Linked DNA regions of Homo sapiens: all the other regions are linked to region 1. The links are contacts of gene promoters, found by promoter capture Hi-C in blood cells and fetal thymus (Javierre and others, 2016). All regions are on one chromosome and are shown on one strand. Each heading gives the region's core, a stretch centred on a gene start or on the middle of the fragment in contact. The rest is flanking DNA. Distances are from core to core; before and after follow the strand shown.

Evidence for each region. The method cuts DNA at HindIII sites, captures the fragments that hold promoters and counts their contacts. A CHiCAGO score of 5 or more calls a contact.
Region 2: a contact is called between a fragment that was not itself captured here and the fragment with the promoter of ADPGK-AS1 in region 1, in 1 of 17 cell types (M2 macrophages). The highest score is 5.1, in M2 macrophages.
Region 3: a contact is called between a fragment that was not itself captured here and the fragment with the promoter of ADPGK-AS1 in region 1, in 2 of 17 cell types (fetal thymus and total B cells). The highest score is 7.9, in fetal thymus.
Region 4: a contact is called between a fragment that was not itself captured here and the fragment with the promoter of ADPGK-AS1 in region 1, in 2 of 17 cell types (fetal thymus and naive CD8 T cells). The highest score is 6.1, in fetal thymus.
Region 5: a fragment that was not itself captured here is called in contact with the fragment with the promoter of ADPGK-AS1 in region 1 in 1 of 17 cell types (fetal thymus); the score reaches 5.1 in fetal thymus.

Annotation. Positions count from the first base shown.
Region 1 is chr15:72,781,459-72,784,165 of GRCh38, forward strand. ADPGK-AS1 (ADPGK antisense RNA 1) reads left to right here and starts at 1,377. Exons shown (of 3, transcript NR_040107.1): 1 at 1,377-2,707. It overlaps ADPGK (ADP dependent glucokinase), which reads right to left and starts at 2,300. Exons shown (of 7, transcript NM_001365225.1): 1 at 2,001-2,300. The coding sequence starts at 2,233. RefSeq lists enhancers at 1,676-1,745, 2,506-2,565, 2,616-2,707 and a silencer at 1,996-2,455. The HindIII fragment of the contact is 5,666 bases long and covers 1-2,707 here.
Region 2 is chr15:73,686,707-73,689,413 of GRCh38, forward strand. The region is part of intron 1 of CD276 (CD276 molecule); the gene reads left to right. Among named protein-coding and RNA genes, the nearest start is that of CD276, 3.7 kb to the left of the region's middle. The HindIII fragment of the contact is 3,534 bases long and covers 1-2,707 here.
Region 3 is chr15:73,633,763-73,636,469 of GRCh38, forward strand. LOC105370891 (a long non-coding RNA gene) reads left to right here and starts at 2,655. Exons shown (of 3, transcript XR_932451.3): 1 at 2,655-2,707. The HindIII fragment of the contact is 438 bases long and covers 1,032-1,469 here.
Region 4 is chr15:72,219,694-72,222,400 of GRCh38, forward strand. The region is part of intron 1 of PKM (pyruvate kinase M1/2); the gene reads right to left. Among named protein-coding and RNA genes, the nearest start is that of PKM, 10 kb to the right of the region's middle. The HindIII fragment of the contact is 1,853 bases long and covers 468-2,320 here.
Region 5 is chr15:72,265,409-72,268,115 of GRCh38, forward strand. It overlaps PARP6 (poly(ADP-ribose) polymerase family member 6), which reads right to left. Exons shown (of 24, transcript NM_001323532.2): 3 at 2,067-2,263; 4 at 1,337-1,414; 5 at 489-583; 6 at 5-65. The coding sequence starts at 2,069. Among named protein-coding and RNA genes, the nearest start is that of PARP6, 5.8 kb to the right of the region's middle. The HindIII fragment of the contact is 4,663 bases long and covers 1-2,707 here.

The DNA of each region.
Region 1 (2,707 bases), core at 127-2,626:
TTCCCACTTTGGCTTGAAGAAATCTCATTTATTTAGTGTCTGTCCTATGAAAGTCACTGTAGTAAAATATATTTTCCAAGATGGTGGCAATAAGATGCCCCATTCCAAATGTTCTTTTCACAATGTGACACTGATGCTCCTCCCATCAAGGTTTGTTCTATGTCCCCTCCCTTAAAACCAGGTGGACCTGTGACTCTGGTAGAAGAGTTCCTATGTGCTTCTAAGGTAAGGTCGTAAAAGGCATTAAGGCTTCTGCCTGGTCCTCGTGGGTTGTTCCTCTTCTAACCATAATTGTTATGGATTGAATTGTCCACCCCCCACCAATTCATATGCTGAAACCCTAATTCCCAATGTGACTATATTTGGACGTAGGGCCTTTAAGGAAGTAGTTAAGGTTAAATAAGGTCATACGGGTGAGCCCTATTCCAAAAGGACCTAGTGTCCACATAAGAAGAATAAGAGGCACCAGGAGTGTACATGCGCAGACTAACTGAAAAGCCAGCTGGCTGCAAGCTAGGAAGAGAGGCCACATCGGAAGCCAATCCTGCCAACACCTTGATCTTGGACTATCAGCCTCCAGATCCACGAGAAAACAGATTTGTTGTTTAATCCACCTAATTTGTGGTATTCTGTTCTAGCAGCCCAAATGACTGATACAATAATATGTTTCCAACAAGTGAGACAGGGGCCTTGCTTCACCCATCTCTGTATCTTAAGAACCTAGCACAGACCTGACACTAACCATGTAGTTGGTGAATATCTGCTGAATGAACGCGCATAAAGCAAGGAAGGACAATTTAATCCCAGCACTTTGGGAGGCCAAGATGGGAGGCTGGCTTGAGCTCAGGAGTTCGAGACCAGCCTGGGCAATATAGCAAGACCTCGACTCTACTAAAAAAAATAAAATAAATAAAAAATTGGCTGGGCGTGGTGGTGCTTGCCTGTCGTCCCAGCTACTCCAGAGGCTGAGGCAGAAGGATCTCTTGAGCTCGGGAGTTCGAGGCTGCAGTGAGCAGTGATTGCACCACTGCACTCCAGCCTAGGCGACAGAGAGAGAGACCCTGTGTCCAAAAAAAAAAAAAAAAAAAAACCCCAAAATTATAGCTAATATCGAATGCTTTTTAAAGCAGGCACTATGCTAGAGAGATTACATGAATGATGTCATTTAATCTTCAGGCCAAGTTTGCTCTACTTTACCCCTCCCGGCCCCAACACTCCACAGAAAGTAGTGAGCTACATGGTAGAGGGCCTGCTTTTATGTGGTGGTTATACATAACTCTGAGATTACGGCAAGAAAGTCAAATCGAACTGAGACAGGGACTAAAGTTAGTGTTTACAGTATCAATACTATAAAGAAAATAATTACATTCCCAAGGAAAAGTACAAAGAAAGGAGGTAGTGTCATTTGGAAGAACCTTAAATATGCAGTGTCACTGAAGTCAGGGGAAGAAAAGAATTTCACGGAGAAGGGCGTGTTCAATGCGTGGAAGGCTGCAGAGTAGATAATGAAGATTCAAAAAGGCAAATCTGAGAGGAGTTGCAGTACAGTCGTGTGGTTTCTAGACTACACGGCGTTTCGAAAGTGGGTAAAGGCAGACATCACGCGTCTTCAAGAAGTTCAGAAGAAAGAGGAAGAGTGTTGTCATAGTGGGTAAGGTCAAGTATCTTTGATTGCAAAACAACAGTCGCCAGAAGAGAAGGGGCTAAAAGTTGGAACGAGGAAGAAGGCTCGGAGAAAGGTGTCAGACAAAGCGGGATTAGCAAGAAGCTGTTAGGGCTGGTCCTACCGGGATGAGAGAAAGGCGCAGAGGCCAGCCGAGTGGAAAGAGCAGCGGTGACGAACCGGGTTCCACTCAGACGTCCGACACTTCTCGCCAAGGGGCCAGCGCGGACAGCAGCGCCTCCCGGGGACCTCTGAGAAGCCCTGTTTCTGCGCGGCTCCGCCCGACCTCCAAGGCCGACCTCGGAGGCTCAGAGACCCAGGCCCCGTTGGCACTCACCCCACTGCCACGCGGCGCCAGCGCCGGACTGGCCGCACGATAAGCGCGTCCCAGGCTGCCGCCAACCGGCCCTCGGGGGAGACGGGTCCCGGGGGCGCAGGCGCGGGCCCCAGACACAGCGAGCTCCAGAGAGAGCGCAGCGCCGAGCCTGGCAGCTCTGGCTCCAGCAGGAAGACGCAGCCCACGGCCAGCGCCAGGAAGCCCGCGTACGCGGAGCCGCGCCACAGCGCCATGGGGACCCAGGCGCCGCACCTGCGCGAACCAACTCCTTTCCTAGCCCGCGCCTCTTCCGGGCTCGGCGCGCGCCGATGTCGACACAAGCGCTACGTCACAAGGGTGCGCCACGGGGCCCCCCAAGGGGCGGGGCGACGGGCGGCGCCAGGACGGAGCGAGGGGGGACCCCACGCCTCAGTCCCAGGCCTGGCACTGCGGTGTTGCCGCCCCGGAGGAGGTGGGACAACGGCGGTTGTGCCAGTCCGGGCGCTGCACCCCCTTCCCGGAACTCTAATCGTATCCCCAAATAGAGGGATGGGAACACATTTGCTTTCGCAGTAAAACGAAACGGACAGATTGTGAAGAAGCGGACAAACCTCGCGTTAATATTCGAACCAGTGGGTGTCCCCATTGGCACGGATCACACCCCCATCTTTTAATCCCTCCCTCCGCCCGTGTCCCCTCATTTGCTAGACTTGTCCTCTTCCAGGCCT
Region 2 (2,707 bases), core at 62-2,561, 910 kb after region 1:
TCCACAGCACCTAAAGAGACTCCTAGAAAATGTTGTAGAACAAGTGGCTGGATGGTACTTGGTTGCACATACGGGGTTTGGGGTCTGTGCAGAAAAATGACCAAATCCAAGCAGCCTCTGAGATTATGACCACATGGGGGCTGTTAAGCTGTGGATCTGAGTCATAGGGTCAGGGAAAGAGGAAAAATGGCAAGGAGGATGACGTTACTGCCCATGAGCTTATCCTCTGAGTGGGTGGCGACTTCTCATTGTCCTTTTCCCACATCCCCAGGGCAGGAGTGTTAGGGAAGTCCACCAGCAAAAGGGGGAGGGCACACCCAGGGCCTAGGGGAGGGGGAGAGGGGTGAGGACTGGTCCACATGATTTTTGAGAAATTGCCTTTGGTCTTGTTGGCTCAGAATGGACCCCACACCTGGAAGGGGGCCACGTGTACAGTTATGCAACCCTTGCCTGCCACCCCCAGTTCTACCGCCCTTGCAGTGTGCCAGATAGGAGCATTGGGTTTTCAGGTTTGGGAGTGGGTAGGGTTGTGCTGGAGGCTAAATAGACATTATCTCATGTAATCCTCATAGTAATCCTATGAGGTAGGGTATCATTAACACCATTGTACAGTTGGGGAAACTGAGGCCCAGAAAGGGTAAGTCACATGCCCAAAGACACACAGCCGGCAAATGGTGGAGCTGGGCTGTTGTCTGCTTCCAGAACTGGCTTTTTCTGCTGCTCTGGAGGTAGGCACAGGTTTTACCCCTCTTTCTGGAGCCCGGTAAGATGTGCCAAGGGTCTCCTTAGTAAGTCAGGGAAGACTCATCTGGGGAACCAGAGAAGGGGCAGGCCTGACCTGGGTGACCCAGTGACTAGTGGCCTTCACAGCATAGTCAGGGCCTTTGCTGAGAGTTCTTCTCTTCCAGAGCCCTGGACTTTATCATGCTGGGGCTTCCAGGAGTTCCCCCTCCACCCTCCAGTTCTGACCAGTGCTCCCAGCCAGCTGCCCCCTTTCTCCCTTTCTTTCTCTTTGTGGTCCAGAGAATGAATGCCTGCTCCACACACCTTATGCCATTGGGAATCTGACCTTCTCTAGGCATAGGGAGCTTAATCTGCGGGAAGTGGAGTGAGAAGCATTTCTTGCTGGGAGCCTTGGAGCAGGGAGAGATACTGTCTCTGGGAGGCAGGGGTCCCAAGTTACCCTAGAGGCAATGCAGGCTCCTAGGAACTGGGGCTGCCTTGTGGGAGACATTGGAATGTGTCCCTGTGGGAATGCTCTGTGCTAGGGGCTATGGCAGCAGGACGGTAGGAGCTCATGGTACTTGGAACTGTGACCAAGCATCTGCGAAGAGGAAGGGGCCCAGGACCACTAGAATGAGTCAGAGCCAGAGATGGAGTCGAGTTGTGCATTTGCTACTTTGGAGCTGGGGCACTGATAGGGCTCTAGGTGAAAAGTAGGGATACAGAAGGAGTAATGGTCCCAGAGGCCCAGATGTGTGGCCTGACAGAGGAGGTCTTGGCCAGGGAGAGTGGGGTAGGGGCAAAGTGTTCGCTCAGTGCAGAGGCCCCATCTAGGAGGCCTTGTCCCCATGCTTGCGGCAATAATAACAGCAATAATAATAATTATTACTGCAGTTTTGGTACTGGGCACTTTCCTAAGTCCTCTCTCTCTATTGTCTTATTTTATTCTCACAGCAGCCCTGTGGGGTAGGGATTGTTACCCCCATTTTAGAGATTTGGAATTGGGTCTCAAATAGGTTAAGTCATTTAAACTTGGTCATGTGTTCAGCAAGGCATCGGTGTCAGGATTGAAACCCAAGGCTGCTGGCTTCTGAGCTCATGCTGTACCCTGGGCAGGCAAGGCAGCCTGGTGATTCCATTCAATAAGTGAGGAAGAGAGATAGGAGCATCAGCTGGCTCTTAGTCACTTCTGCTGGTGGCTGATAATTGAGTGTGGGCCCTTGGCCAGCCGGCCACCACTCTGGGTCCAGATTTCCATCTGTACAATGGGCCTGGAGCTAGGCGCTGGACCAGGTGTACCGTAAGAGGCCTTCTAGCTCTGAGGACTGGTGGAGATTGCTACACTCCGAGAGGGGTCTGGTGCTTAGATGGAGAGGGGTCGGCAGAGTTGTTCTGCTAAGCTGAGCCTCTTTCAGGGTAGAAACCAAAGGAATTTGGAGGCAAGGAGGCATTTAGGCAGATCACATCTGGAGAAAATGCACCCTTCCTTGAGTGCAGTCTGGAAAGGCTTCTGGAAAGGATAGGATTTCCAGATATGTTTAGGTGGGCACCTAGCAGGACTCAGCAGATATTGAGTGAATGCAGATGTGTGTGCCCTGGGCCTGCCAGTGTCTGACCCGAAATCTGCGCTCTGATGTGGTCTCATGTGCTCTCATCCCTTTCCTTCCTCTCCCTATTCTCCTTGTTGCCATCCCTTCTTTTGGCTGGACCTCCTCTGGGCCCAATGTAGCTTTCACTTTTTTCAGGGCTCTGTGCCTCCTGTGTGTGTGTGTGTGTGTGTGTGTGTGTGTGTGTGTGTGTACACATTTCCACATGCATGTATAGGTCAGTTTTGCAGCCCCTGCACATGCCTCTAGTTCCAGGGAGACCTTAGCCCTGCTTTGCTGGCCAGCCCTGATGACATACTACTGTCCTGACTCACACAGAAATCGCTTGGAGAGGAAGAACTGATTCCTGCTCTTGGGTGGGATCACGGGACTGGGGA
Region 3 (2,707 bases), core at 1-2,500, 850 kb after region 1:
CCTCTCTTTGTCCCCGTCCTGCTGTTTCTTCCTTCTGGACTTTGAACATAGACCTCTACTGGTAACTGGCTCCAACCTCCTTCTCTCATCTGCTGTTTTTTCCTTCCAGGAAAAGTGGTGCGCCCCCTGTGCCCCCGTTACCTTGTGCTTTCCTGCCTGGACATCTGCTCCCTTTGCCTGAAATGTCCTCCTTTGCCGCCTCTGCCTACTCCCCCTCCCACCCCACATCTGGGCCTTATTTTAGCTTCATAGACTCTCAGGGCCTGAAGTTCAGCTAGCCTAATTGCATGTTCATTGACACAATTCTACAAGGAAGTCGTGTATGAACTTACATGAAGACTCCTAAGAAGCGTCTTAATGCGGAAAACATTTATTGAGAACGTGCTGTGTGCCAGGCACATAGTGAAACCCACATGAAAAGGTAGTCCCCGTCCTCATGGAGTGCACTGCCTAGGCTAGCAGAGGAGTGAGGAAGGGTCAAATGGCCCCATAGGAAAGGATCTAGCAAAGCACTCTGGAGGGTGATTGGCAGTGTGGTTACTACTGTTTGCATAGAAGTTTGGGAAATGCTCTTTTTAGGGGTATTTTTTGTACTACCCTCAGGGCTTGTGGTTGGCAAAGGAATTTCTATGGCTTAGCTCATCCCTGACTCACAGCAGACGTCCTGGGAGTGTCTGTGGAAACTCTGAGGGGCCAAGTAAACAGTCCTGGTGGCCTGACTTGATTTAAAGAGAGGGTTTGGAGGACCTGGAAGAAGGAGACCCTCGCAATCTCTATCAAGCTAAAGTGGTCTGGAACTTTCAACAGGAACTGAACAGCTGGTGGTTCCAGACCAAAATTTCTAGCAAAGGCCAGGACCACTATGGCATGTTGTTGATTGAAGTGAAAACTATGTCCTTCAAAACCTCAGGTGTGTGAGTGACAAAAAGATTGGCATGTACCTTCATCTGGACAAAGGCCATTCTGCAGACAGCCCAGTAAGGAGGGCTACAGGGCTGCCTGTGGTGGGATCAAGATTTTCAGCTGATGGAAGCTTTGGTTGGATGCAACCATTCTGCCTCATTATAGCTGTAACAAATGTGGCTCTTTGATCCTTACAACAAGAGATTCTTACAAAATGATCATGGTCTTTTTGTGGATAGGGAAGCTGAAGCCAAAGGAGGACACGAACGGCTCCAGCTCTCAGAATGTTTGTATTAATCATTAATGCCAACAATCTGGTTTGCTTGTTAATAGACTCATGGTAGAAGTGCATTTTCTTGTCCCCTTGAAGTCGGGAGTGGCATTGGATGTGCTTGGGTCAGTGAAATGTGTAAAGTAACATGCATTGCTTCAAGCAGAAGCATTTCATTTCCAGTTTAGACTCTTTCCCATACTCTTTCGTCTTGGTAGTGATTACTGATCATGACGATGAAAGCATATATCAAAACGAACCTTGTGTCAGCATTAGTCCCTGAGTTAGCATAATAAGCTTAACCCCCCTGCTAACCCATACAGAACAGGTACCCTCTGTTGAATTAAACTGTGAGATTCAAGGGGTATTTGTTCCTGTGACATAACATAGACTGTTCCGGCTAATGGAAAGATGAAATTCAAGTCCACAACACCAACATTACCATCCAGGAGCTCTGTCATCTTAGGCAAATGACCTAATCTCTCTGGACCTTATTTTCTGTCAAATGGTGCTAATGATAGCACCTACCTTCCAAGATTATAGAAGGAATAAATGAGTAAATTTATGTGCAATGTTTAGAACAGTTTCTGGTGCATAGTAAACACTCATGTTGATGTTGATGCTGCTACTACAATTCTGACTCCAGCTTTGTATTCTTCTTCTTATCTCATGCTTGCAAAAAGTGATCTGGGAAGAACATTTTTAAGTATGGGTGTTACCAGTCAACTCTCAAAACCTGCAGTTATGAAAAAACCCTTTTACCCAGGGAGAAATGTCACCAAATTCCACATGATAGTAGCTGTACTTTGTCACTTTTCATCGAGAAAATACATAATAACTAAGACCTTTTAATAATTCTGTAATTTTTTTTTTGAGATGGAGTCTTGCTCTGTTGCCCAGGCTGGAGTGAAGTGGCGGGATCTCGGCTTACTGCAACCTCCGTCTCCCGGGGTCAAGAGATTCTTGTGCCTCGGCCTCCAAAGTAGCTGGGATTACAGGCATCCGCCAGCATGCCCAGCTAATTTTTGTATTTTTAGTAGAGACAAGAGTTTTGCCATGTTGGCCAGGCTGGTCTCAAACTCCTGACCTCAGGTGATCTGCCTGCCTCAGCCTCCCAAAGTGCTGGGATTACAGGCGTGAGTGAGCCACCATGCCTGGTCTAAGTCAGTAACTTCCTTTTTTTTTTTTTTTTTTTTTTTTTTTGAGACGGAGTCTCGCTCTGTCTCCCAGGCTGGAGTGCAGTGGCGCGATCTCGGCTCACTGCAAGCTCTGCCTCTCGGGTTCATGCCATTCTCCTACTTCACCCTCCCGAGTAGCTGAGACTACGGGCTCTTGCCACCACGCCCGGCTAATTTTTTATGTTTTTAGTAAAGACGGGGTTTCACTGTGTTAGCCAGGATGGTCTCGATTTCCTGACCTTGTGATCCACCTGCCTCGGCCTCCCAAAGTGCTGGGATTACAGGCGTGAGCCACCGCGCCCGGCCTAAGTCAGTAACTTCTTTAAAAGAATTTAGGAATTTGTATTTTTTTGTT
Region 4 (2,707 bases), core at 144-2,643, 560 kb before region 1:
CACATCTACTGTTGGCCAGAAGGATGTCAGGACACGCAAAGCAATTTGCAATTTGCAAAGCAAGGATAACATAAGGGCACTGGTATAATTCTGAAATTATCACAACTACATTAACAGGATAGTTGCAAACATAGAGAAATTAAAGTTGCTGGTCAAATCTTTTCCCCAAATGATTTTTGATACACATCCTGATTTCTTTTCTAAGCCTGACAAGTATACCACCACTCTGTAACACAGACCATCAGTTCCAGGTAATTAACTAGCCCAGGTCACAACCCTGACAATGGCCCCAACCTTTGCTTTCTTCATTAATGACTTACAACTAAACTCACTCAGCCTGTTAGTTAGCTGATTAGAGACAAAAACTCAGGAGAAGCTTCCAGGCAGTGTTTGAATAACTATCAGGTAAGGATGTGAACCAGACCAGGCAGTGTTTGAAGAACTATCAGGTAAGGATGTGAACCAGAAGCTTGCTACACGTCTCATCAGAAAGCTGTTTCCTTGAGTTCTCAGACCAAGGGCTACTCTTTCTAAAACGCTTGAGCCTAAATGCTTCGGCCAAGCAAGGCTCAGGAACAAGCTCCTCTTTAGCCCTTCCCCACCTCATCCTAAATCTCAAAGTTCCAAATCAAGGCATCTCACACATATGACCCTTACTCCTTTACCCTGTTCCATCTCTGACTTTGTGGGCTCTCTGGGTGGCTCGAGTAGAGTATACATCTAAATCCATCTCTGCCATCTCCAAAGAAGGCCCGCTGAGGTCCAAGGAGCTCTGAAGGCAGTAGTGAACAGTCTGTTGGCTATGGAAAACTGATGGCCACAAGTCCTCAACCACAGATTCTAAAACTTTTAAAATGGGGAAATAAGATACCGGCTAACGGTTCAACATGGCAAATGCACTCTTCATTTCGATGTGTATTTCCTAAGCCCCTAATATCTACTACGTACCAAAATGAAAAAATCAATCCTCCCTTCCAGGACCTATATGGTTTTGTATCTCCTAGCACCTAGTATGTGGAAGCATTCCAGTGTTTGTTAAATGACCTTTCAGTCTCTCTGAATGCCTCTTTGTCAGAATCAAAGTTATGCCTCTGCTCCCCCTTCCCTAAATCTGAGGAACTTCTGCATTACTGACAGGAAAGCCTGGGGCCCCTGGTCCCTTTCCCTACACTCATGGTTGAGGGAGGGCTCGCATACCTTCAGAGCTCCCAGCTGGGCTTAGGGAAGTCTGGCTGTTAAGGGAACATTACTGAGAGATGGCACATCAGGCCAACTGGAACACAAAGGCTTTGCTGTGGCCTCCAATGGGCCTACAATCTAGGGACTGTATTGTGAACAAAATAAGATCTGAATAAGTGGGTTGGAGTAACTAATTCCACTCTTTTTAAAAACCATCAGCTGGCTCTTCTTAGACCTGAGATATGAGGGTCTTCCTGTAAAGACCTGGCTGGGGCCACTGAATATCAGGTCATACCTTTGGTTCTCTGGGGTTGGGCTTCCGGTGACATAATGCTCCCCTTTTGGCTCAGGGTGGCTCCTTGGCCTCACTAGCAAAGACCGCTCAGAGCTGAATACGGTGTGCCCTGGAGAGCTGCACAAGGATTAAGGAAAAAGCTGAGTGTAACTAAAGCTCTTTGGGGTAATGGAAAAATTACCTTAATAACCAGGTATCCAGGTGACAGCTGCTCTAGAGATTCCACTGTTATGTCTCTTTAAACCTGTGATTTACTAACATTCCACTATTCTATACAAGAACCTGGTCCCTCCCCTTTTGGGAGCGGGGAAGGGACACCAAATTAAACATACCTAAAAGACCTGGGAGGATATATACTGAAATTTTAATAGGACGTCATTGGGGTGGTAGGATTACAGAAAAAAAAAAATCCTCTTTATTAACAAATTTACTGATATAAATATAAAAATACTTTTATAGTAAGAAATTATGTGTACCTCTTTTGGAAATATTTATATGCATCCTATAAAATTGTTGGGAGGAAGTAAATGAAATGTGAAGACACCAATTCCATTAATCAATTGCTGCTCTATGCACTTCAAGAATAATCTGCTTTTAAAAGGTGGCAGAGAAAAGACGCATGTCTCAAGTTCTGTACACTGGGTTGTGATTAAAAAAAAAAAACGATACAAGTCTTAGGCCCTACATCACAAATGTACTGCAGAACAGTTTCAACGGCTTAAGAAGGTCAACCTTAATACATTCAGAACCTCAAAGCAAAAAAAAAAAAAAAAAAGTCCACAGGATAATCCCATGCCTCAAACCTGTTAGTTACATGCCCAAATCCAGCAAACTAGTTTGTTCTCAAGCTTTACAGTAAAAGCTTTTGACAATGTTCTGGTACAGAAGGGCTGCCTCCAAGTCCACGAGATGCCATTAGCAGATAAAATTATATTGGCCTCAAACACAAACCCTATTTCAACTATCTCAAATTAAATCTGATGCCTATAAGCTCTAATTTTTTGCCAATAAGTACAAAAATGACAAATGAAAATTTCTATAGTGGATTTACGCATTAGCAGTCAAAAAAAGCTTGCTTGTCAGCAAGTTCATCCAGACTCCAGATCTCATGTGTCCTTCATGCTCTCTACCCAGCCAGAGACCTCATATCTCATGCCCAGGTCTTTCCTCAGGCTCTGACCTGAAGCCTCCCTTGCAGGGAGGGCCAGAGCTCTCCTGCCTTCTCCAAAATCC
Region 5 (2,707 bases), core at 60-2,559, 520 kb before region 1:
TTACATCGAGGAAGCTGATGTTGATGTGGAGGTCAATGTCCACGTCATCGATAGTTCCATATTCTCTATAGAGATACAGGTGACAACAGGTGAGACTCATTAAGGGAGAAAGAAGGGAATAGAAACTGAGTTGGAAAGAGAACTGAGCCTGGGGACAGGGGAAAGGGAAGAGTGGATGACAGTTTTGTACCTAGGGTCTTAGCTATAGCCTTACACCACTTACCTGATCAGGATCTACTTCCAGGCCAAAAGCATTTCTTACCTGAAAGGTGAAACTACTGGCCCAGAGGGGTCTAGGATAAGAGGGAATTCCTAAGAAAAGTGGCCTTACTCTCTACTCTCAGCCAAGCTCATTTATTCTGAGCATTTTCTATCATTAAGTTCATAATTTATCCCACTATCATACCATAAAAAGAAAAACCTCTAGCCTTTTAACAACTCAGAAAGAAGTGACTTGCTCCCCTGCCACCCCTGAAGTAGAGTCCCACCTGATGGATACAGAGTTCTCACTGTAGATCTCCTTCACGGCTTCAATGTCTGCATCAAGCTGTGGGTGTCGATACAGGTCAGCTGCACAGCTCCCCTGAGATAGCAGCAAAAATGGTGGTGGAGAGAGGTGGAAAAAGACGAGGGAAAGAGAGAGATAATAAAAAGAATATGAAAAGACACCAGGAACAGGAGAAATCAGACAGCAGTATAGGGGAAGTAAAAGCCACTTATGTGAAGGGGTTCTCAGTGGTGACCCTAGCAAGGGATTTCATTAACAGAGGTCTCCATCTCATCATGACTTTAAAAAGGTTCAGCAGACCAAATGTAGGCTTTTGCTTGGAGTTCACTTCCTTAAATCTCCAGCTTTTCTCTCAGACCTTGACCAGGATACCTTCTATGACAACTCAGAACAGGCTGAAGAGTTACAGGTTTCCTAAGATTGGTTCTAAGTGAAGAGCATTCTGAGAGTCTGGGTACTTCTGCTCAGGACTGTGCCCTGGGTAGTGATGGCATTAAGCAAACGCTGGCAGAGTAATCTTTTAAGATGTGACCCTAATGAATGAAACTACCCCCACTGGCTAGTGTTATAAAAGTCAGAAAATAATTATGTCTAATTAAGATATGGGTAGTCTCCACATACAGAGGATGTAGTTTACTCTGGAACAGGTATGACTCCAAAGAAAGAGCAAGGGCACGGGATCAGCTCTGACAAGACCATGCTCAGACCACATCAACATTATAACCTCATCTCATCTGTGCTCCAGAACCTCTTTCACTCCTGATGTATCCAAAAAGCAGCACATATCTAGACCATCCAACACGGGGGTCTTGGGAGATGTAACCTCACCTGAACGCCATAGAGAAATTCCTCTGATTCATTATCTCCCTCCGAGTCGTCATCATTCCAGAACTGGCCTTTGATGTCCTAGTGGTGAGAAATAAGGATATCATGCTTTGTTAGGTCCCTATTATCCCATGGAAAGGCGTGGGATGATATGGTGAGGAACAGATTCCCACAAAGATTGGGAAATATAGAATAACTGAAGCCCTGATCCCTTTACACCTTTCATGTCACCCTTTGTGAGAGTCTCAGTCTCTTCCTGATATGATCATATCCATAAACTAGCTCTTAGTGGGACAGAGGAAAACATCTAGGGAATTTTGGCCTTCTGAAGTCTCAGTATGATGACTGAGAGGCTCTGGTAGCCAGTAGGAAAGAAATGCAAATGACTTCAATGTCAAGGTTGACTCCTAAGCATATCTGGGTTCCAGTACAAGCTGGCCTCTTCCAGGATCATTACCTAAGACAGTTCCCAAGCACACCTAAACTCTCTTGTCTCATTATTTTCTTTCTATCCTTTAAAGTACTTAACTCTCCTCTCCCTCCCCAAGAAAACCCACTACACAAACACACCAAGTAATACTGTTTCTGTGCCCCTTCCCTTTCCTTTAACTTCAAATAGCCACTCTATCTTCCAAAAGGGTAGAAGGGAAAATACCAAGAAAGGGTGAGATCTGCACTTTGTCTCCTCTACCCTTTGAACAATCAGTTGGAGAGGTGGGCAGTCAGTTCTCACCATTGGGTCAGTGGGTCACACACACTCTCAGGTCAGTGCTAGGCAGCACCCCTCCATACCACTAGCCGAACCAAGGCCAACGAGATGGGCATTTAGGAGACCACAAAGGGAGACAAGGTAGGGCACGATGTCAGGGACAACTGGTGATCTGTTGGGGATGGCAGGCTCTGCTGTTGCGGTGGTAACAAGTCACTGTCCTGTGGAAAGTAGATAATAATGGGTTTCATCACCACTTAATAGCTGGGTGGTGTATATATACAGGCACACGTATTTATCAATACACTTTTTTTTTTTGAGACAGAGTTTCGCTCTTGTCGCCCAGGCTGGAGTGCAATGGCGCGATCTTGGCTCACTGCAACCTCCGCCTCCTGGGTTCAAGTAATTCTCATGCCTCAGCCTCCCAAGTAGCTGGAATTACAGGTGCCTGCTGCCACGCCCAGCTAATTTTAATATTTTCAGTAGAGATGGGGTTTCACCACATTGGCCAGGCTGGTCTCGAACTCCCGACTTCAGGTGACCTACCGGCCTCGGCCTCCCAAATTGCTGGGAATACAGGCGTGAGCCATTGCACCTGGCTATTAATACACTTTTATTATACATACAGATACTTGCATATAAAAAGACATGCTTGCGTGCATATA